Regions from separate parts of the Homo sapiens genome. Here regions 1, 2, 3, 5 and 6 are each linked to region 4. The links are contacts of gene promoters, found by promoter capture Hi-C in blood cells and fetal thymus (Javierre and others, 2016). All regions are on one chromosome and are shown on one strand. Each heading gives the region's core, a stretch centred on a gene start or on the middle of the fragment in contact. The rest is flanking DNA. Distances are from core to core; before and after follow the strand shown. Region 1 has its middle 22 kb from the start of TRAF3IP2. Region 2 overlaps LOC105377944 (a long non-coding RNA gene). Region 3 has its middle 54 kb from the start of TRAF3IP2. Region 4 holds the start of CCN6 (cellular communication network factor 6). Region 5 overlaps FYN (FYN proto-oncogene, Src family tyrosine kinase). Region 6 holds the start of LOC105377945 (a long non-coding RNA gene).

The links. The method cuts DNA at HindIII sites, captures the fragments that hold promoters and counts their contacts. A CHiCAGO score of 5 or more calls a contact.
Region 1: a fragment that was not itself captured here is called in contact with the fragment with the promoter of CCN6 in region 4 in 3 of 17 cell types (total CD4 T cells, activated CD4 T cells and non-activated CD4 T cells); the score reaches 7.1 in total CD4 T cells.
Region 2: a fragment that was not itself captured here is called in contact with the fragment with the promoter of CCN6 in region 4 in 1 of 17 cell types (non-activated CD4 T cells); the score reaches 6.7 in non-activated CD4 T cells.
Region 3: a contact is called between a fragment that was not itself captured here and the fragment with the promoter of CCN6 in region 4, in 1 of 17 cell types (naive CD4 T cells). The highest score is 5.1, in naive CD4 T cells.
Region 5: a fragment that was not itself captured here is called in contact with the fragment with the promoter of CCN6 in region 4 in 1 of 17 cell types (non-activated CD4 T cells); the score reaches 5.6 in non-activated CD4 T cells.
Region 6: a contact is called between a fragment that was not itself captured here and the fragment with the promoter of CCN6 in region 4, in 7 of 17 cell types (naive CD4 T cells, total CD4 T cells, naive CD8 T cells and 4 more). The highest score is 8.0, in naive CD4 T cells.

Annotation. Positions count from the first base shown.
Region 1 is chr6:111,626,629-111,629,864 of GRCh38, forward strand. No RefSeq gene overlaps it. Among named protein-coding and RNA genes, the nearest start is that of TRAF3IP2, 22 kb to the left of the region's middle. The HindIII fragment of the contact is 588 bases long and covers 1,342-1,929 here.
Region 2 is chr6:111,647,474-111,651,071 of GRCh38, forward strand. The region is part of intron 2 of LOC105377944 (a long non-coding RNA gene); the gene reads right to left. Among named protein-coding and RNA genes, the nearest start is that of TRAF3IP2, 43 kb to the left of the region's middle. The HindIII fragment of the contact is 3,246 bases long and covers 419-3,598 here.
Region 3 is chr6:111,550,619-111,554,112 of GRCh38, forward strand. It overlaps TRAF3IP2-AS1. Among named protein-coding and RNA genes, the nearest start is that of TRAF3IP2, 54 kb to the right of the region's middle. RefSeq lists enhancers at 1-3,494, 2,164-2,856. The HindIII fragment of the contact is 4,095 bases long and covers 1-3,494 here.
Region 4 is chr6:112,052,337-112,056,007 of GRCh38, forward strand. It overlaps CCN6 (cellular communication network factor 6), which reads left to right and starts at 1,768. Exons shown (of 5, transcript NM_198239.2): 1 at 1,768-2,069. The coding sequence starts at 2,022. The HindIII fragment of the contact is 6,629 bases long and covers 39-3,671 here.
Region 5 is chr6:111,669,389-111,672,760 of GRCh38, forward strand. All of the region lies in intron 13 of FYN (FYN proto-oncogene, Src family tyrosine kinase), which reads right to left. Among named protein-coding and RNA genes, the nearest start is that of TRAF3IP2, 65 kb to the left of the region's middle. The HindIII fragment of the contact is 416 bases long and covers 1,585-2,000 here.
Region 6 is chr6:111,689,006-111,692,186 of GRCh38, forward strand. The region is part of intron 12 of FYN (FYN proto-oncogene, Src family tyrosine kinase); the gene reads right to left. LOC105377945 (a long non-coding RNA gene) reads left to right here and starts at 848. Exons shown (of 3, transcript XR_001743812.2): 1 at 848-1,224; 2 at 3,153-3,181. The HindIII fragment of the contact is 2,862 bases long and covers 225-3,086 here.

The DNA.
Region 1 (3,236 bases), core at 386-2,885, 430 kb before region 4:
GCCGGCTAATTAAAGCACAGCTTTGGCTCATTCGGGGCTGTTGGGCGGGGCCTTCTGTGGTGTTGCAGCAGTTGGGGAGAAAAGTAGACATTGGGATGAAGTGTAGATGGATTAACCAACAGTAGAATGAAGAACAATTTAGCCTCATTTCTCTCTTTTATGTACCACGCAGCCCTCCATTTTTTTTGTCACAAAGGGCAGAGGTAGGGGGGTTACAATAATGGGTCCTAGTAGAAGAGCCAATGATTGTGAGACGTGATAACCACCCTTGCTCAAGAGGGTGGGAGGACACAGTGCGACGACTCCACACTTATGCCCCTTGGGTCCTAGCTGCTTTGTTGCTGTGACTCTTTTTGTAGGACATAGCACTTTGGGGTTGTAGCCATTACACTATCTGCAATATTGCTATTTTAATTTTGGTAATAATAATACAAGCTGCTTATTATAAAGGTTGACTTCTATTGAAAGTTTTAATTAAAATGTAGATGTTCATCAGGGTGCAGGTGTTCATGCCTGTAGTCTCAACACTTTGGGAGGCTGAGGCAGGTGGATCACTTGAGGCCAGGAGTTCGAGACCAGCCTGGCCAATATGGCAAAACCCTGTCTTTACTAAAAATACAAAACTCAGCTGGGTGTGGTGGTGCATGCCTGTAATCTCAGCTACTCGGGAGCTGAGGCAGGAGAATCGCTTGGACCTGGGAGGCAGAGGTTGCAGTGAGCCAAGATCATGGCGCTGCACTCCACCCTGAGTCACAGAGTGAGACTCTGTCTCAAAAAAAAAAAAAAAAATGTAGATGTTCAAGGTAATGTTTGTCCAAAGAGCACCAGATAGGTGGAGGAGAAGAACACCAAGTGGCCAGTAGGACAGAGAAATTTATCCAAAAGTTCAAAAGGAGTGGACTGGCTGAGCACAGTGGCTCACGCCTGTAATCCCTGCACTTTGGGAGGCCGAGGTGGATGGATCACCTGAGGTCAGGAATTCGAGACCAGCCTGGCCAACATGGTGAAACCCCGTCTCTACTAAAGATACAAAAATTAGCCAGGCATGGTGGTGGGCGCCTGTAATCCCAGCTACTTGGGAGGCTGAGGCTGGAGAATCGCTTGAACCCAGGAGGCAGAGGCTGCAGTGAGCCGAGATTGTGCCACTGTACTCCAGCCTGGGTGACAGAGTGAGACTCTGTTTCAGAAAAAGGGACTGGACTAGCTGGAAGAAGAATGTTTCCATTACAGGCTTAAATGGCACAGATATGTGCATTTGACTTAGTAAGCAGGGTATTTTCAGAATACTGGGTTCTGTTTCTTATGTTCTTGCCTAAAAAAAAAAATCAATTTTAATAGGAAAGCTTATTTTTCAAGATGGTGGACTGGGCACATGGGTTTCTGCCACTCCCTCCCAAGGACCCATTAAAATGATAATGAACACATTTTAAAAGGGTATAACCTTATAACATGAAGACAGTCGAGGAACAGGAATCAGTAGACTATGAGAGAAGGAGGATAAGAGAGAGGACAGTTGATTTTCCAAATAAGTCCTCCTGTACCATTTGCTTTTTTAATCATGTAGATATATCACTTTGATATACAAGATTTTTAAGTTGGAAGGGACCTTTGTTGCCTTGTTCCTACTCCAGCTTTTAATTAAGACCACATTTCCACCATTCTAAAGAGATGATCTGCGATCCTATTTTTAACAACACCCAGAGAAAGGCAACACAATCCTCTCCTGAACTGAGCTGTTTCATTGTCTGATAATCCTCATGTTTTTGATTCACATTTTCCTTGCAGCCTGAAGGTGATCATGTACACCCAGGAGTAGCCCAGCTCTGTTCCATGAAATGAAACGTCCAGAGCTGTCCGCTTTATGTTTTATATGGCAACACATTTCTATGTGTGATTAAGAAACAAAACAACAAAGTGGGGAACGTACTAAGCTTATCAAAGTACAATAGTTGCTGCTTCACCAGAAAAACTAGTGCTTTCATTCTATTTCTGGCGCTGTTAGCCTGACCCTAGGGAACCAAAGACATTTTGCACTGAAATAAAGAATAACACTTAACAGCTATAGTCAAGCTCATGACAAAATTGTGAAATAGGCAAAGTTTTTTACTAGGATTTTCCCATCATCTCTGGCTGGGTGTTTCTCCTCTTACTGTCCCCTCGCTCAGCTCCAAGGCAACTATTGCTCTCTAGGTGCCAGGAAAACAAAACAAACTATTTTACACTAAAGTGTCATTGACTCCCTGTGAGTTCTACCCCAAGGACATTTGTGTTCTATATGAGTCTGTATGCAATCAAGAGAGAGAAACTATACAGTAGTTTGAACAGGGAAAGTGTAATATAAAGAATTACTCATTATAACAGGAGACTAAAGTAACAAAGAATTGATTGGTAAGATGTAAAAAGAACTCTAAAGAATATCCGAATGGCAGCTATAAGGAGCAGCCACTACCTTTAGAGCTGAGATAGAGGCCAAGAAAGAGGCCCCCCAGGGCTGAGATCCAGACTTTTTGAAGGCTCAGCTCTGGCATAGGGGATGACAGAGAGAACAGAGAGGTGAAACTTCCTGGAAATCCATCCTCTAGGGTGTCCGGAAAAGCTGATCACAGGAAGATATTGTACCAGATGCATTCTGCAACAAAACCACCCAAGGTGAGTGAAGTGCCCAGGAAGCTGCTGGCCACTGGGTGCCTCTGGTCACCATGCATTATAGGAGCCAGGCATAGGAGAAGCAGCCTGTGCCACAGGAGCCTGCTAAGCTTCAGGTGTCTGCCAAGCAAGCATAAGGGAACCAGGACAGAAACCCCTTCCTCCTGCAGTGTCTCCCCAGACCCCTCTACTGAAGCCGCAAACCACAGTATATATTTAAATGACTAAACATATATACACACAGCTTAACATTGTGCCAGATGCAAGAGAAAAATATCTGAAGGGCACAGCTCCATTTTTGAAGATCATGCAATGAATGGTGAATTTAAAGTCAAGAGGCCACAAACTTATAACCAGCACATACTGTAAAAGAGAAAGAAAAGATCAAGGCAATGTTGAACCCAATGGGATGAATTTCTAATGGTAAAGTTCCAGAATAAGCAGGCTAGTGAAGGTATTTTGGAGATGAAGAGCTTTCTAATGGTCCACAAATCACACTATATAGATGACATAAATGTATATCACAACTGATGGGATTATTAAATGCTGCTTCAAGGCAGGAAAGGGATGCTGTCAGGCCTTGAGCTCTT
Region 2 (3,598 bases), core at 792-3,291, 400 kb before region 4:
AATCAATTCAGGAAATAAAAAGTCTACAATTTATTTGGGTCTCTAAGACTCAGAACTCCTGGCCAAAAATGTGCCCTTTGATCTTCATCCCTTTAATCTGAAGTATTCTCTAAATGCATTTCCATTTTAACGAACAATGCCTTCTACTGGCACAATTCTCTTTATTGAAGAAACTCAGCTTGTGTTTCAGGATTCCAATCCTTGGATTAAATTCATTGTCATATATCAGTCCTAATGTGTGCCAGGTTCCTACCCTCAGTGAGCTTAGTGGCAAGGAGCAAAACTCAAGGATGTATGCTAACAACTGCAGCCAGCAGTGCTGTGCAGTGACTGCCTTCAAAAGACCAGAGCCAGGAGCAGGGCGTTCTCAGAGGGTGGCCATCACTAGACATTTGAGTTGAGTCTCAAAGAGTGGATAAGCTTTTAAGAAGAGGAGGGAGGGAAAAAGAACAGTCCAGGAAGGAGGAAAGAAAGGAGCAGTGCAGAGCATGCTTGCAGAGTTGTGGGTAACTCAGTGTAGCCAGGAGATAAGGCAGGGGTGATGGTGGAGGTGATGGGACAGATGAGCCTGGCCAGACAGTGGAGCCAGACTGTAGTGGACCAAACTCCCTTGGATTTGCTCAAGTAAAGAGCTGATGTACACAATGCTTCAGAGGAATCTCACAGAAATGATGTGGGGTAGCGCTATTGGACCTCCAGATGCTAGAGCGTGGACAGTAGCTATTCCCAGTCACTCTCTCTGGTGGCCCATGGTTTCTTGCCACTGCTTCTCTCTGCACGCTGTGTCATCTGATCACCCATAGGGCAACTCTAGCCCTGACTTAAGCCAACCTGCAGGCCAAGCATCTGTCACCACGGTCTCTTGATTCTTGGATCCAACTGGACAGAGACAATTTGATTAGCCAGTGGCCAATGGACTGTTTGTCCCTTGGTCAGGTGTCTACCCCTCAAATATCAGCTGTTCTGGTCGGGGGCAGGGTGGGGGTGTTATACAGTGAAAACACAACCTACTGTGCTCACCCTTCAATAGAGGGGATAGTGTGTGTGGAAGTTGAAAGAAAGAGGCGTGGCTGGGCAGGTCCTCCAAACAGGTCTCCTTCCATGACAGTGGGGGTCAGTGGGAACTACCACATTTTTTGAGGAGGAAAATAACATAATTAAAGCTGTAATTCTGGAAGATTACTTTCTACCATGTGAAGGATAAGACTGAAGGGGAAGGAGAAGTTGCCAACACGTATCAAACATATACCACGTACCATATACCTGGCACATGTATCTGTGTACCTAGCCCCTATGATGCTAGATACTGTTTGCATATTACTTTTTCTAGTTTTCACAAGAGCCCATTTTATTTATGAGAAAACTGTAATCTCAGTGCCTTGGGAGGTTCAGGTGGGAGGATTACTTGAGTCCAGAAGTTTGAGACCTGCCTGGACCAAAGAAAACACACACACACACACACACACACACACACACACACACACAAAATTAGCTGGGTGTGGTGGTGCATGCCTGTAGTCCTAGCCCCTAGAGAGGCTGAGGTGGAAGGATGGCTTGAGCCCAGGAGTTTGAGGTTACAGTGATGAGCTATGATTGTACCACTTTATTCCATCCTGGGTGACAGAGCAACCCTGTCTCTTTAAAAAATTAATAAATAGCCCAGGTGTGGTGGCTCAAGCCTGTAATCCCAGCACTTTGGGAGGCCGAGGTGGGTGGATCGCCTGAGGTCAGGAGTTCGAGACCAGCCTGGCCAACATAGTGAAACCCCGTCTTTACTAAAAATACAAAAAATTAGCCAGGCGTGGTGGCTGGCACCTGTAATCCCAGCTACTCGGGAGGCTGAGGCAGGGTAATCACTTGAACCAGGCAGGCAGAGGTTGCAGTGAGCCGAGATCACACACCATTGCACTCCAGCCTGGGCAACAAGAGTGAAACTCCATCTCAAAAAAAAAAAAAATTAATAAATAAAAAATAAAAGAAGCCAGAAGGGAAAGTGAAGTAACTTGCCCAAAGTCACACAGCTAGTTAGTCAATGGTAGAATTGTGATTTGAACTTAAAAGCTGTCCAGACTTGAAATTCACACCAAGCCTGAAACCTACCGGGATAGCCCCGTGTGCCTCTCTGCAGGTGCCTCATGTGCTGTGAGTTCGGACTGAGCTTGTCATCTTCTGCCTGTTTTCTATTCCTTTTCCATATCACCATCCTCCCAGTCACCTAAGCCCAAATCTCTCTAAATCTCAGTCTCCTTGTCTGTAGAACAGAGATAATAATAATGTATCCCAAAGGTTGTTCTGAGAATTAACTTAGAGGATTCTCATGAAGTGCTTAGCACCATGCATGGTGCTGTGGTGTTGCCAGCTGTCCCCAACCTTTTTGGCACCAGCACCAGTTTCATGGAAGACAATTTTTCCATAGCCTGGTGGTGGGCATGGGGGTGGGGGGAGGGTTTCGGGATGAAACCATTCCACCTCAGATCATCAGGCATTAGCTTCTCATAAGGAGCCTGCAACCTAGATCCCTTTCATGCAGTTCACAATAGGATTCAGACTCCTTTGAGAATCTAAATGCCACTGCTGATCTGACAGGAGGTGGAGCTCAGGCAGTAATGCTCACCCACCTGCCGCTCATCTCCTGCTGGGCGGCCCGGTTCCTAACAGGACACGGATTGGTACCACTCCATGACCCAAGGGTTGGGGACCCCTGGTGTCCGCAGAATTGACAGAAAGAGCAACTTATTGGCTGTGGGGAACCAAAGGAGTATGACTTGGCGTTTTATTTATCTAATACAGGAGCTGGCAAACTTTTCCTAAAAAAGGCCAGATAGTAAGTATTTTCGGCATTGTAGGTCATATAGTCTCTGTTGCAACTACTCAACTTTACCATTGTTGGGCAAAACCAGCCATGGACAAGACATAAATGAATGAGTGTGCTGTGTTTCAAGAAAACGTTATATACAAAAACAAGCAGGGGCCGACTGGACCCAAGGGTTGTCTTTTGCTGCCTCATGGTCTTTGCCCTGCCTCATCTCATGAGGGCGAGGCCATGTCTGCTTAGTTCATCGATTTTTCTCCAGGGTCTAGTGCAGTGCCTGGCCCATAGTAGACATTCCATAAATATTTATTAAAGGAATGATTAAATGAGAGAAAGCAAACAAGCAAGAACAAAAGAAAGACTGAGAAGAGACAAAACTTTGGGATCACCTGGATATCTGTTACAGGGTTCTGTGTAGGAAATAGAAACCATGCTAGAGTTTTTAAGCAAAAAAGAATATAACATGAAGAATTGCAAACTTGTTGGAAAGGCTGGAAGAGAGGGCTCTAGGCTGGGCCTCCGAGGATGGCTCCCAGAATGTGGTAAAATCAATCTGTCAGGGGTGCTATCACCTCTGCCACAATCAGGAAGGAGGACTCAGGAAGCTGCCACTGGGACTGTTGACTGCAAGAACATCATGGCTGCAAGACAAGGCCAGAAAGTGGTCAGCAAGCCAGGAACAGCGTGAATTACTGCCACCACCGCATTTGCCAGGCAGAGGAACCTAGCCACTGCCACGTCCACAAGATTCTTGATGCCCATGAAGCTGGAGAGTGGCTATCAGTA
Region 3 (3,494 bases), core at 795-3,294, 500 kb before region 4:
TTGCTTTTACAAACATTACTTAGTGATTTTTTTAAAAGCTGAATATTTACTAGTGCTTTTCAGGGTGCTTCAAAATATTAATATTTTCATGACAAAACCACCTTGTCAAAATGTCAGCTGTCATTTCCATCAAGATGCTGGTCCTCTAACCCTTCTTCCCTATTGTCCTGCTAAACTGGCAACTTCTAACCTACCAAGCGTTAGAAAAACAGAAAATTGCTCTTGTTAGAACCATGTATATAAAGTAAGAGTAAATGTGATCTGGGTGAGGGTCTGATGGTTGTGTTAGGAATAAGAGTGGGGAGGTTTAGTGCCTAAGCCTTGGGATACTGTTTTGGCTTGGAGGATTATCCCATGAAACCCTTTTCACCACTGATGCCGTAGGTGGAATTAGCTCTTCAGGCAGACATTTTTTTCTTCTTAGGGTCAAAGGTAAGGTGACATGTGAAGGGGCAGCCAAGGCATCATCGGGAGGCTAGGGCTTGATGGAAGGGGTAAGGGGGGTGGTGCCGGGCATCTGGTTGGAGGGAAGTAGGAACACAGGCAGAAGCAGAGAAGGGCCCTTAGTGCTGCCGAGCACAGGCTGCTGCTTGACGCGCAGCCCTCAGCTGGCTGGCCCTGGCTGGAGAATTTCTCCGCAGGTCATTGGTTTTACCACAGTCTTGTTTGGAAACCATCTGTGTTCTAGGAGCCCATGGAGAACGGGCATCTTATTTTGAAAATCAGTTTGAAGCTAAAGTGGACTTTTTAATTACAAATGAGAGCAATGAAAATATAGCTATTGAACTTTATTGTTATTTTGGCCTCGTAAAAATTAAAAGTAAACTTTTTTAACTCAAGAGGATTTTATAAAATCTCCCCATTTGTGTACATTTCAGACATGAGACTCTACCACCCCAGAACCCATCTGAGAGGAATTTAAATCTCAGGAAAGTAGCAGCTTTCTTCAAGTTTCTGAGTAACTGAACCTTGTAGATAACAACAGATTGGAAGATAGAATCAGTTAATCCCTGAACTCAAGGAACCCTTGGCCCATAGCCCAGACAATACAGCATGCTGAAAATTGGTCTGGTCCCAGCCTCACGTAAACCTGTTTCTCCTCTCCTGAGAAGAATGCAGCTTTTGACCACTGCCCAGTGTGAGAGCCCGGCCTCACTGTTAACACCTCAGTGAAGGCAAGAACAAGTGGTTTGCAGTGGAGGGCATCGCCTGGAAGGTGGCAAAGGCCAGGCAGGTACCTGCGGCCCAGCTGCTGCTCGACGATGAGGCTGGCAGCCAAGTCTAGCGCCAGCCTTTTCAAAAGCAGCCCTTTTGATAACACTGATTACATTTCCCTCACCGGAGCCTTGGGTTAATTGAGCAACAGCCAACTTCTCTGGGTAACAAAGAGGAGGGGAAAGTAATCCAAACACAGGTTTTATTATAAAAACCAGGGAGTGAGAGAAGTGTGTTTATTCTGTAAGATAACACACCTGCTCGGTGCCGGGGAGGCTCATTTCCATCAGTTGCCATGGCAAACTCGTTATACTTCAAGGCCATGTGGCTTTGTTTCCTTTTGGGATCTGGTCCTTGTCCTACCTTTTCTAACAACTCCAACACAATGACATGGAAGCCTGCGACAGCATAATTGATTTCTCCTTCCCTCTATCAACGGTTCACATTTGTTCAGCACAGGACTGAGTCTGCCTTCTCCTTTGAACTCCTTGCTAAGCATGAAGGCATGCTTCAGAGAGCCACCCTCATTAACATTCCAGGTCCCTCTTCCCTGTCAGCAATAAACAAGCCCTGCATCAATGGCCTCCTGCCTTCCACTTTTACAAATGAGTGGCTCAGTTCCATGTTTTGCTGCTGATCCAGGTGCCCAGGCGCATACAACGCGAGCCTAAGAAGCACGCGGGAGGGACTAAAAATAGAACAGCAGTTTTGGATGCATACCAGAGCAGCTACTTCATCTCAACTTGCTTTGCACGCTAAGCCTAATGGGATCCATCAGGCATGAGTTCTCTCGCGCGCTAGCTCCCTCCCTCTCCCCTCTCTCCCCAGCTGCCGATTTCCATCAGCCCCTTCCTGGTGAAGGGAGCAAAGGGAGGTCAGGCAAGGGACAAGAAATGTGTGCCCTTATGGTTTTCGTTTACAAGCCCTGGGAGATCTGGGGGCTGCAGTTACTCCTTCCATAAGAGAGTTTCTAGAAAAAAAGCAGGCAGGCCCAGAACATGGTCACCTCTGCCCAGGTACACTTTGGTCCAAGACTTTCATTGTTTAGCAAAGCCTCAAATATCACTTCCTAATCACCCAATACCTATAACCTGGACCCATGCTCCTATATTCCTTGAAAAGTTAAGTAGAAAACTAAAGTACACTGAGTGTTCCTCTTACAGATCCCACCTGCTTGCTTGAGGCTAAGAATTTGGGAGCAAATGCACAGTGAGTTGGCAACATGTGACTGCCAGGGTCTGCAAAAGCCACCCACCTGCCGCCAAGTACCCTATCCAAAAGTGATCCTATCCTAAAGCATTTTCCAATAGAAAATGGAAGAAGTCATATGCAGTTAGGAACATGCTATCCTGCCTGGGCACAATACCTCCCAGCATGCCAGCTGTGTTGACTGAGCGAGGCTCCTTTGTATGCTAAAGTGCCTCGTGCAGCCTCCCTCAAAAGGCGAGCCAGCATGACCATACGTTTCTCATGTCTACATCCAAAAGGTAATGCAGATGTTCCAAACAGCTAAGTATTATTCCAAGAAGTGCCATTTTTGTGGAATCAGAATTGTGATAGGACGGGCTGGACGCAGTGGCTCATACCCGTAATCCCAGCACTTTGGGAGGCTGAGGCGGGCAGATCACTTGAGGTCAGGAGTTAGGAGTTCGAGACCAGCCTGGCCAATGTGGTGAAATGCAGTCTATACTAAAAACGCAAAAATTAGCTGGGCTTGTGGTGGGTGCCTGTAGTCCCAGCTACTAGGAAGGCTGAGGCAGGAGAATCGTTTGAACATGGGAGGCAGAGGCTGCAGTGAGCTGAGATCATGGCACTATTGTACTCCAGCCTGGGCGATAGAGTGAGACTGTCTCAAAAAAAAAAAAAAAAAGAATGGTGACAGGAAGATGAATATCACAGTATTTAAAAATCTTTTTCATTGTTGATGTTTTGGAGATTGGCCAGATACAACTAAAAGAAACTGATCTGGGCCAGGTGAGGTGGCTCACGCCTGCAATCCTAGTACTTTGGGAAACCAAGGTGGGAGGATTGTTTGAGCTAGGGGGGTCAAGACAAGCCTGGGTTGAACATAATGAGACCCTGTCTCTACAAAAAAAAAAAAATTTTTTTTATTTTGAGACGAAGTCCTGCTCTGTTGCCCAGGCTGGAGTGCAGTAGTGCTATCTCTGCTCACTGCAACCTCCACCTCCCTGGCTCAAGCAATTCCCCTGCCTCAGCCTCCCAAGTAGCTGGCATTACAGGCATGTGCCACCATGCCCAGATAATTTTTTTTGTATTTT
Region 4 (3,671 bases), core at 518-3,017:
TGATACCCTTTCTTCCAGTTGATCGAATCGGCTACTGAAGCTTGTGCATTCATCACGTAGTTCTCGTGCCATGGTTTTCAGCTCCATCAGGTCATTTAAGGACTTCTCTACAGTGAGAACACTGGGACACAGGAAGGGGAACATCACACACCGGGGCCTGTTGTGGGGTGGGGGGAGGGGGGAGGGATAGCATTAGGAGATATGCCTAATGCTAAAGGACGAGTTAATGGGTGCAGCACACCAACATGGCACATGTATACATATGTAACTAACCTGCACATTGTGCACATGTACCCTAGAACTTGAAGTATAATAATAAAAAAAAAAAAAGAAAAGAAAAAGATCAGATTGGACCAAAACAGACACATTTTCTTCACTACTCCATTATCTGGTTTTGTCCTATTTCTTAGGGAGGCAAGATAAGGCGTTGGCATCCTAACTGCAGTGGGTATTCCTTGTTGTTTGATGTGCATATACTTACAGTTTAATGACTCCTTAGTAAGCTCTGTGTGATCTGCAGGTTTTAGGGTGTCCATGGTTCTCCAAGGACACCAGATTCTCTGTGGTGGAGGACAGCCTCGTTTTTCCCAGGCCCTCAGCTCAGGCCTAAGCGAGGCTTGATGTTGTCTTTATACAGTAGTGACTGCCTTGAACAGTAACAAAGGTGAGCAATCGGTATAGGATAGGTAAGGCAGCAGGAAAAGGAGGGATAGGTAACTGATCAAAGGAAATAGAAATAGGCCTTGGGATGGGGGCAGGCAGGTGGGACGCCTCAGGGACCTGAGAGGGACAAAGCACCACGGCAGCTGCAAATGAAGATGGGAACACAGACCCAGGCTGAGAACATGGAGAAGCGAAGGTCCCACATGATGACACAGGAGGAGATGCGCTGGTGGTCACACCTTTCAGGGAGGTGAGTATGAAGAAGAGGAGTACAAACCTGTCAAAATTTTATTTTTAATCTTTTTTTTTTTTTTGAGAATAATTCTCACTCTTGTCCCCCAGGCTGGAGTGCAATGGTGCGATCTCGGCTCACTGCAACCTCCGCCTCCCAGGTTCAAGCGATTCTCCTGCCTCAGCCTCCCAAGCAGCTGGGATTACAGGCGCCTGCCACCACACCTGGCTAATTTTTGTGTCTTTTTTTTTTTTTAGCAGAGACGGGATTTCATCATATTGGCCAGGCTTATTTTTAATCTTAATTCATTAAATGAATGATTGCTACCAGTGTAATTGTTTTATTTTAGGCCCGGAAAAATGGAGGTTAACTTCATTGTCATCTGTCATGGAACTGTGGCCACAAAAAGAGGCGTCTCTCAGGCCAGGTACTGTAGGAGTCCGCCCCCTGCTCCATCTGTATTTTTTCCACTCACAGTCCACCTGGCATGAGAAAGGTGTTGGGATAAAGGTGAGCCCAGGGCACTGTGGGTGCCTCCGAGAGAATCTGAGCTGGGGGAGTCAGGGTCCTTCGAGAGCCTGCCATTAATATGGAGGGGGAAAGCCAGGGCTAGGCTGCGATGGGTGCTGTTGGTGGGGGGGCCAGGCCTGCACTCTGTACGTGAGGGTGAAGCTGGAGAAGGAAGCAGCCTAGAGAGGACCCGGAGCAGGGCAAACACAGATGGAGAAGCTGAGGGCAAGGAAGGGAATGACGTGGGACCCCACCCGTTGTCGGGGGCAGGCTCTGCTCTCCAGGAACAGGTAACACAGTCACTTAGAGAACAGTCACTACTTGCCCTGCCCTCCTGAGTCCCGGGAGGAAAGTGCTCGCCCATTCCTGACCTGTGACACGCTCACTGCGAAGGCAGGTTATTAGAAGAGTCCCATGAAAGTAAACAGGGTATTAAAACGGATCCTTAAAAATGAAAGTGCAGGCTGAAAGTTGGTAGTGTGGGAGGTAGAGGGTGTGTGTTCTTGTGCAGAGGAGCGTGGGGTTTGCAGAGGAGACAGGGGAGCTTTGTGTACCCGGAGCAATGAACAAGCGGCGACTTCTCTACCCCTCAGGGTGGCTCCACGGTCCCAGCGACATGCAGGGGCTCCTCTTCTCCACTCTTCTGCTTGCTGGCCTGGCACAGGTAAGTCCTCTCCCCCGACTCTTTCCCTTCCGGAGGCTATGGCCATCCTTAGTTCTTCAGGCCCAAAACTAAACAAAACGAAGATGGAGGAAGAGGGAGGATCAATGGCTTGTGGAACTACTTCATGAGAAATAGGAAGCCATTTTTCTTTCCAAATAAAGTTCTGTGTTCGTTCATGAGCTTCATGAAAGAAATGTAAAACATTTCTCCCTTTCAGGTAATGGCACCGAAGCCTCCTTTCGCTATGTTTGAACAGCGCCACGCTTTCCTATATATTTTTATAGCAGAGCCTAAGGCACAGCCTGGCACAGTGCGGGAAACAGTGTCTCTCCATGCCAGCTCCAGGCGGAGGCTCAACTTTCCATTGCTGTTTGCAAAATGTGCAAAGAGCCCCTGGAAAAACGAATTTTGACAGCGACTTTTTCCAGTTAAGTCTGTCCTTCTTTGAAAGGGGCACTTTGGAATAAACATTTACATTTTTAAAACATTCTCTTACTTTGTCTTTTCTCAGTCCATGTGTTTCTCACTTCCTGAAAGGGAAGCAGTCCATGGAGGCTTGGAAATATTTCAAGCAACAGACCAAAGGGAAGTTTAACTTACTATGAGCAATTCATTGCCTTAGTCTTTTTAAATAAGAAGATGAAAACAAGGTGACTTAATTGTTGATTTATTTACACGGTAGACAGGAGACAGAGCTTTTGAAATCTGGTGATTTAGGAAACATGGGTGTGTCTGTGAGTTAGTAGTTGATTGGGGCCATAAGTAGTAGATACATCTTAGAAAACAAGGAATTGCAAATTGTTATACCATATAGAGAGAGATTTACGATTTCAAAAGAATCATGACAAGAATGTCAGTGGTCCAGGTCATTGCTGCTGTTCTGTGGAGGGGCTCACTCCCCTGTCTGTGTGCCTCCTATTCCACTGTTCTTGAGAAAAAGCCTGTCATTGTGGATTGAGAGCAGCTAGATGTTCTTAGACAGCAGGTATTCCAACACAGAGAGATGTGTACAAAATAAACAACAACAAACACAGAAAGGTGTTACACAAAGAGCGGTAAAAATGGATTATTTTGTGCTTAACTTTGCTTTTATGAATTCATAAATTCATGAAATAGCTGATAATACCTAGCATTTACTGAATAGCTGCTATATGCCAAATACTGTGCTGGGTGCTTTATTTATTTATTTATTTATTTATTTAGAGACAGAGCCTTGCTCTGTCGTTCCAGGCTGGAGTGCAGTGGTGCAGTCTTGGGTCACTGCAACCTCCACCTCCTGGGTTCAAGCGATTGTTGTGCCTCAGCCTCCCAAGTAGCTGAGATTACAGGCCTACACCACCATGCCTTGCCAATTTTTGTATTTTAGTAGAGATAGGGTTTTGCCCTGTTGGCCAAGCTGGTCTTGAACTCCTGACCTCAAGTGATCCGCCCACCTCGGCCTCCCAAAGTGTTGGGATTACAGGTGTGAGCCACCACCTCCGGCCCAAGGGTGCTTTAGTTATTATCTTAATTATCAAAACAACTTTACAAGGTGGTCATTATTAATCCCATATTACAGAGGAGATCAAATGATGGGAAGTTCTGTAAGATCACAGAGCTGTT
Region 5 (3,372 bases), core at 543-3,042, 380 kb before region 4:
CATGCCACTGCATTCCCGTCTGGCTGACAGAGCAAGATTCCATCCATCTCAAAAAAAAAAAAAAAAAAAAAAGAAAGTGTTCCTGTTCTACCAGGTCCTGCCAAATCCACAAAACAGGTGTTCGGTTAAGAGCCAGGGCACAGAATAGCCAGGACACTCTGCCTAGAATAGTGTTGGAACATGATGTTTGAAATGATCACAGGGTCAATTTTCCAGAAGAACTTTGAGGACAGAGGCTACCTTGTGGCTAGGAAAATATATATCCATGTGTGAAGATGATGGAATGCAGTTAAAAGGCTTTGCAGGCTATGGGCTAAATTTAAAAACCTTGTTTCAAAAACCTCATAGGTGAGTTCTTTTTTTTCTGTTTCATTCACTCATTTATTTGCTTATACTTACTGACAGTCTACTATGGGGTGGACCCTGTGCTGGACCTCGGGAATCCATCAAAGGGACTCCCTTCTCTGAAGCTGCTGAGAAATACACACAAACGGGGGGCCCAACAGAAATATGCTAGGTGTCATGGAGGCAAGCAGAAGGAGCACCCCATTTGGTCTGGACATGGGGAAGGCTTTCCAAAGCAGATGATGTTCAGTTGGGCTTTGAAGGGTTCTGAGGCAGACAGGGGAGCCACAAAGAGAGACCTGCATGTTCAAGAGACATCTCTTGATGTGTCTTGGTAACGTGTGAAGGATGGAAGACAGCAAGAGAGAAATCATGTCACTCTCCTGCTCAAATCCCCTCACTTCCCACCTCACTAAGACTAAAAGCAAAAGTTTCAACCATGAGCTAGAAAGGCCTTATCTGATTTGCCCCTGGGGCCTCTGGGACCTCCTGCTCCCTCTGCTCCAGCCATGCTGGCCTCCTTTGATTCTGGAGGGTCTCTGCACTCTCCCTTCCCCTGATGGAAGGCTGTGCTCCCAGATACCCACCTGGCTGGATTCTTGCTTCCTTTAGGTCTTCTACTCACCAGTGAGGTGCTCCTTTGCCACTCTCCCCTCTCTCCCCTTCCCTGTTTTATTTTTCTCCCTAGCTGTTACCAGCAGCAAACATTCAATATATTTTGCTTATTTATCTTTGTTTATTGTTTGTCTCCTCAAAGAAGAATGGAAGTCTATGAGGGCAGCAGCATTTGTCTATTGCTTCACTGCTGTATTCTTGGTGCTTGCAACAGTACCTGGCATATAGTAGGTGCACAATAAATATTTGTGGAATGACTACAGAAAAAGAGTTATGAAGAACTATGTAGAATTACGTTTTCTAGGATTTATCTGAAAGGCAAAGGGAAGCCGTGGACGTTTTTAACTAGCAGGGTGAGATAACCAGGTCTGTGTTTTCTAGAATACTAACTCTGTTGGCAACAATGATAGAATGGTGGGTGGGTGGGTGGTGGGGAGGCGGGGAGAAACTGGAAGCAGAGGGGAAAAGAAGGATTTGAGAAAGGTATTAAGGTGAAATGACAGGTAAAAATGCATAACTGATTTTATGCATCAACCCCAGAAAACTGCTTTTACTTAAGTCTTTTTATTTCTCACATACAACAATCCATCAGTATGAAATCAGTTCTAATCTTGAAGTAAAGAAAGCTTCTGAACTCTTGCTTGCAGAAAAGCAAGCTAGACTGCAATGCAGAGAATGCGTTCAGCTCAGGCTGCTAGCGGGGAACTGATGGAGCTCTTCTTTGGAACTGCATCCATACTTGTTACACATCTCGAAAGCAACCTTCCTCATCTGGTAAGGTGATGTAACTTTTCTCTACCACCCCCGTTAATCTCAGCATCATATTTCAGTATTTTTTCCTTCGGCTTCCAGGTTATCATTCAGTTTGAGATTGTCGTCTTCCCTTCTTTTGTCCACTCCTCTCACACAACTTGCCAATGTTCTAACATCTCCGCCTCCCTTTGCCCTTTATTTGGTCACACCTCACATACTCCACTCTAAGTTCCTTCTGGGATTGTCACTTCTGGACCTTCTTTCACGCTGGGCAAAGATGCCTGGAAAGCTTTTATAAAACCAATTTATATGTCACCCCCTCCTCCCGCACCTCCATCTTCACCTACCAGGCAAAGGAGCTTTCTTATGTGTCAAGGAAACAGCAGGCTATTCTCAGGTATGGAAGACTCAGAAAAATGTACCACCATCTACTGTTCTCCAAAAAAGAATTACTTCAAAATATACTCTAGCCAACTGAGACATGAGACATGACTACATCAAAATGCAGAATGGAAATCATGACGGACCGGGACTGGGAGTCTGTCCTGAGGTACCAGCAACAGGCACAAAGACGCAACGTGGGAAGCTGAGAAGGACCCCTCAGCGCACACTGACTGACTTGCCACACCAACAAATAGCAAGAATGCAGAGAGGAAGGTCCTTCTTTGCCTTCACAGTGACATCTGAAGGAAGCTTCGTGAAACCTCTTGTTCCTTAGGAATTATTATCCTTCGTTAGGGTAATAATCCTATAATTGGAATCCCTCTGTAAAAGCTTCTCCCTCAAGAAGAGTTTTCTGTTGGATTCACAAACCCAATTAAATAGGATTATAGCTATGTTAAAAAGCAAAACCCAGGAAGAACCCATGGCTAGGAACAGGCCTGGGAACAATTTTTTGTGGCTTTCTTTGAATGAGGACCAGCTCACGACACCCCCAATGAGGACACGGTTCCCTGGTTGCCACTGCCAACCAGCAAGGCCCCAACGCAGGCTCTCGGCCACCCTTCCAGTCACATCTCCAGGTGTGCCCCTGCACATGGCATCTTCTCAGATTCATCCTGTGGTCCCTGGAACTGTCCTCCCAGGCCTATGTGCCTTCCCACGTGCCAGACCTTGGGATGCTCTTCCCGCCTTCTGGGCTTGAGGAAACCTACTTGGCTTCCAAGGTCTGGCTTACTTGCCTTCCCTACACAGCCCCCTCTCCAGCACTCCTCCACAGCTAGAGGCAGTTATCACAGCCCACTGCAGACCAGCACTTGCTCACAGCTCTCTCTGCAGGAGCCGCTGGAGTTAGTTCTCACTTCAAACTCCTCTGCCATCCTCACAGGACTCAGCTTGAAGAGTCCCTCTCAGGACCTGCTGTGTGTGGATACCTGGATCAGGTGTCCCTGACCCCATTATCAGAATGAAGATCTAGGCCCCATAGTAGGTAAAGCCAAGTAGTCCATCCTTTCAGGATGACTCCCTCTGATAATAAACAAGGAATAAAGAAGGCTGGTTTCTTCCTGGATTTGATGCACATTTTATCTATCTGACTGTAATATCCATGAACATAGGGACTAAATTTATTTACTTGCCCACTGTGCTAACAATGCCTAGCCTGAGGCAGGTACTAATCAAGGCTTGTTTAGAGTATGAGGGTCTTATTTGCACTATCTC
Region 6 (3,181 bases), core at 406-2,905, 360 kb before region 4:
CTCTTTAAAAACTTTTTAGACTGTTTTCAAGGAAAATGTATGTCAAATACAAAAAGTTGAGGTGATAAGGATGATTTTTACATTTCACAACTCTCAAAGAACTTTTATAGATAGCCCATGTAAGTTTCACACTAATGATGTGAGGTGATCATTTTTATTATCACCATTTTACAGATGATAAAAATGAGGCTCAAAGAGCTTAAGTAACTGGCCTGCGGACACCAAGCTTGTAAGTGACAGAGCTGATTCAAAGCCAGGGATCCTAATGTCCAACCCCTGGTTCCTCAGTCTCACTAGGCTGCCTCACTAGCAGCTTAGAGGCAAGTACAGTACTGGCAAATGACACACTAAGTGTGTATTCACCTTTTTAAAAATATGTCCACAAAATCTGTTAGGCAGTAACTGCAATTGCTAACCTAGGTTTGCCCTGTAATTACCAATTCCACTGGAGAACACAGCCCAGAGAGATGAGGGCATGTGTGTATCACCACAGCAGCCGTATTTATAATGGCCCCAATTTGGAAATAACCCCAAATGTTCAGGAACAGTAGAATGGAGGCTCTGTGATATATTTGTACAGTGGAATACTACTCAGCCATGAAAAGAACTACTGTTCCATGCAGCAATATGGAAGAATCTCACAGACATAATGGGAAAGAAGCCAGACACAAGAGTAATACTATAGGATTCATGTCTGTGATGTTCATTTACAGGCAAAACTTACCAATCTATGGTGAAAAGGGGAAAAAAGGCTATTTGTGGGGGTGGTTACTGACTGGGAGTGGGAATAAGGGGTCTTCTGGAGTGCTGGAGGTATTCTGTATCTTTATCTTCGGGGTGGATTCAGGGGCATATATGTACATAAAAATTCATCGGGCTGCACACTTCAGATTTGTTCGTTTTACTGTATGTGTGTTATAGCTCATAAAGAACAAAAAGGTATCCACAAAAGGAAGTTATGCTTACACACAGCCATGTCTGTCTGAACTTGTTAGGTTTAAATCAACATTAGTCGGCACTGAAAGCTCATGAAGAAAAAACTAGAGTCTGCAGAGGATTTTCCCACTGCTTCTCTCCTGCTTGTGCAATCTCTGAAGGAAGTGAGGGCTGGAGGGGCTGTGAATTTCCAGAAGCAAGGCTTGTGACATTGCCTATGTCGGGGGTCACAGGAGACAGGTGTGGTATGGACAAGAAGATGGACAGCAGATCCTTGTGGTGCCTGTGGTGAGTTCTGGAATGATTCTGGGAAGAAGGTGCAGTGGTGGGGTAGGGAGGTGGCTGTGACCAGAACTCAGGGGAGGGCTGGAAGGCTGAGGGCCCAGCTGTGGCAGTGAGACCCAGTGAGGGCACCCCGACTCATCTTTCTGGGCTTGGAGGACCAAGACCACCACCTCAAGCTCAACAGATCCAAACCCAAATGCATCCTCTTTCTCTGAAAGTAAGATCTTCCCAAGTACTCATTTCTGTTATTGGTAATGCCATTCTCACAATCACCTGCATCTGACTACTTGGGAATTATCTTTGATTCTTCTCTCCCTTTCCTGAATAGTGTTTGAGACTTTCCATGTATCTACAATCCATTCACTCATTTGTTTATTCCCCAAGAACTTAGTATTGTACCAGATATACCAACAGTAACAAGCAACATTTATCACTATGTGCTGGGTACCCTGTTAAACACTTTACATGCATTGTTTCACTTAATCTTTGCAAAAATGCATACAGCAGACAAAATGTCTTTCCATTTTACAGATAAGTAAACTGAGGTAGGCAAAAGTTAAATAACTTGCCTAAGACCCCAGAACATCAGGTGGTAGCGCTGGATTTCAAAACCAGTTCCATCTGACTTCAACAATCCCCCACGTCTTCCTCCTCATGCTTGCTGACTGTCGTGCAGTCTTAGGCTTCTTGATATCAGTAGCTCCTAGTAAAGTCCTTTCATAGATAAGGCACTCAAATAACTGATGTTGGCATTATTTAGAGACTCTGATTGGGCAGAATTTAGCAAAGTGTTTGTAACTAAAGACGAACTATCTGCTGTAATTGAGTGAGATGTCCAGGGAATAGAGAATAAGCAATCGCCCCAAATTTCTAGTTGCTTCTAGAGTGCTGTCAGTGGAAGACCACCTCACAGGCTCAGGGCCTGGCCTTGACCACCTCCCTGACATGGGCTGCTGCTCAGTCCTGGGTAGCTGGGATGGTGCGAAGTAAGGAGCACAGGAAGGACTGTGGAACCCAGCTCCACACTCCAATTCTGCTTGTGCCCTATGCAATGCCACCTCATCTGCCCAAGGGGTGACAGATATTTCCGTGCACGCTGAGATGGGAAACTCACAACTGTTTTGAAAACAATTGTCATTCATGGTCCTAAAATATCTGTGTTTGGTGCATGTTTCCGAATGCCGCCTGCATTCCCATAATCAAGATGCAGCATGGCTGTGGCCTGTGGGTAACATAAAACCCGACTTGCAAATATTATTAGGCATGCGGACCAGCTGTCTGGAGGAGCTGATTAATTCCCAGCAGAAACTTCAGCACACAGCACACATGCCATCTGCAGAGTACACCAGCAGACACACACCAGGCCCTTTCTGCCTCGTAAAGCAGCCAGGGCAGGGCAGGCCCTCGGGAGGAATTTTATAAACAGCTGGGTTGTCCCAGTGCTGGAAAAGGAAGGTCTCTCCAACTCCCTCATACAGACACACTAGAAGGTGCTCCTTAAAAACAGTCCCATAAAATAAAGGGGAAAAGGGATGTATGACTAATCCTCTCTATCTTTATTTTCTGTTCTTTTGATCACTGACTTGATGAGATGTGGTCAGCATAGCTTAGAATGGTAGATGCAACAGGGTCAGCCATTTCTGGATTCAAATCCTGGCTCTGCTATTTTCCTAGCTGTGTGACTTTGTACAAGTTACTTAACCCCTCTGAGTCTATTCCTATTGTTTCCCTGCTTGGTCCTCACGTTTCCTCTCAGGCCTGGCACTTGGAAGGTGTTTTATAAATGGCTCTGCCACTCCCTACCCCTCTGCTGCAGGACAGCATGTCTTTTATTCTCCTGGGACATCCTGGGACCTGCCTTGCCAAGCTTCATTTCCCCCCCCCCCAGTTCAGCTCTCCAGTTCACTTACTTCTTACTTCTCTCTTTCTAGTGTTTGGCATGGATTTGAAGGTGTTTGGG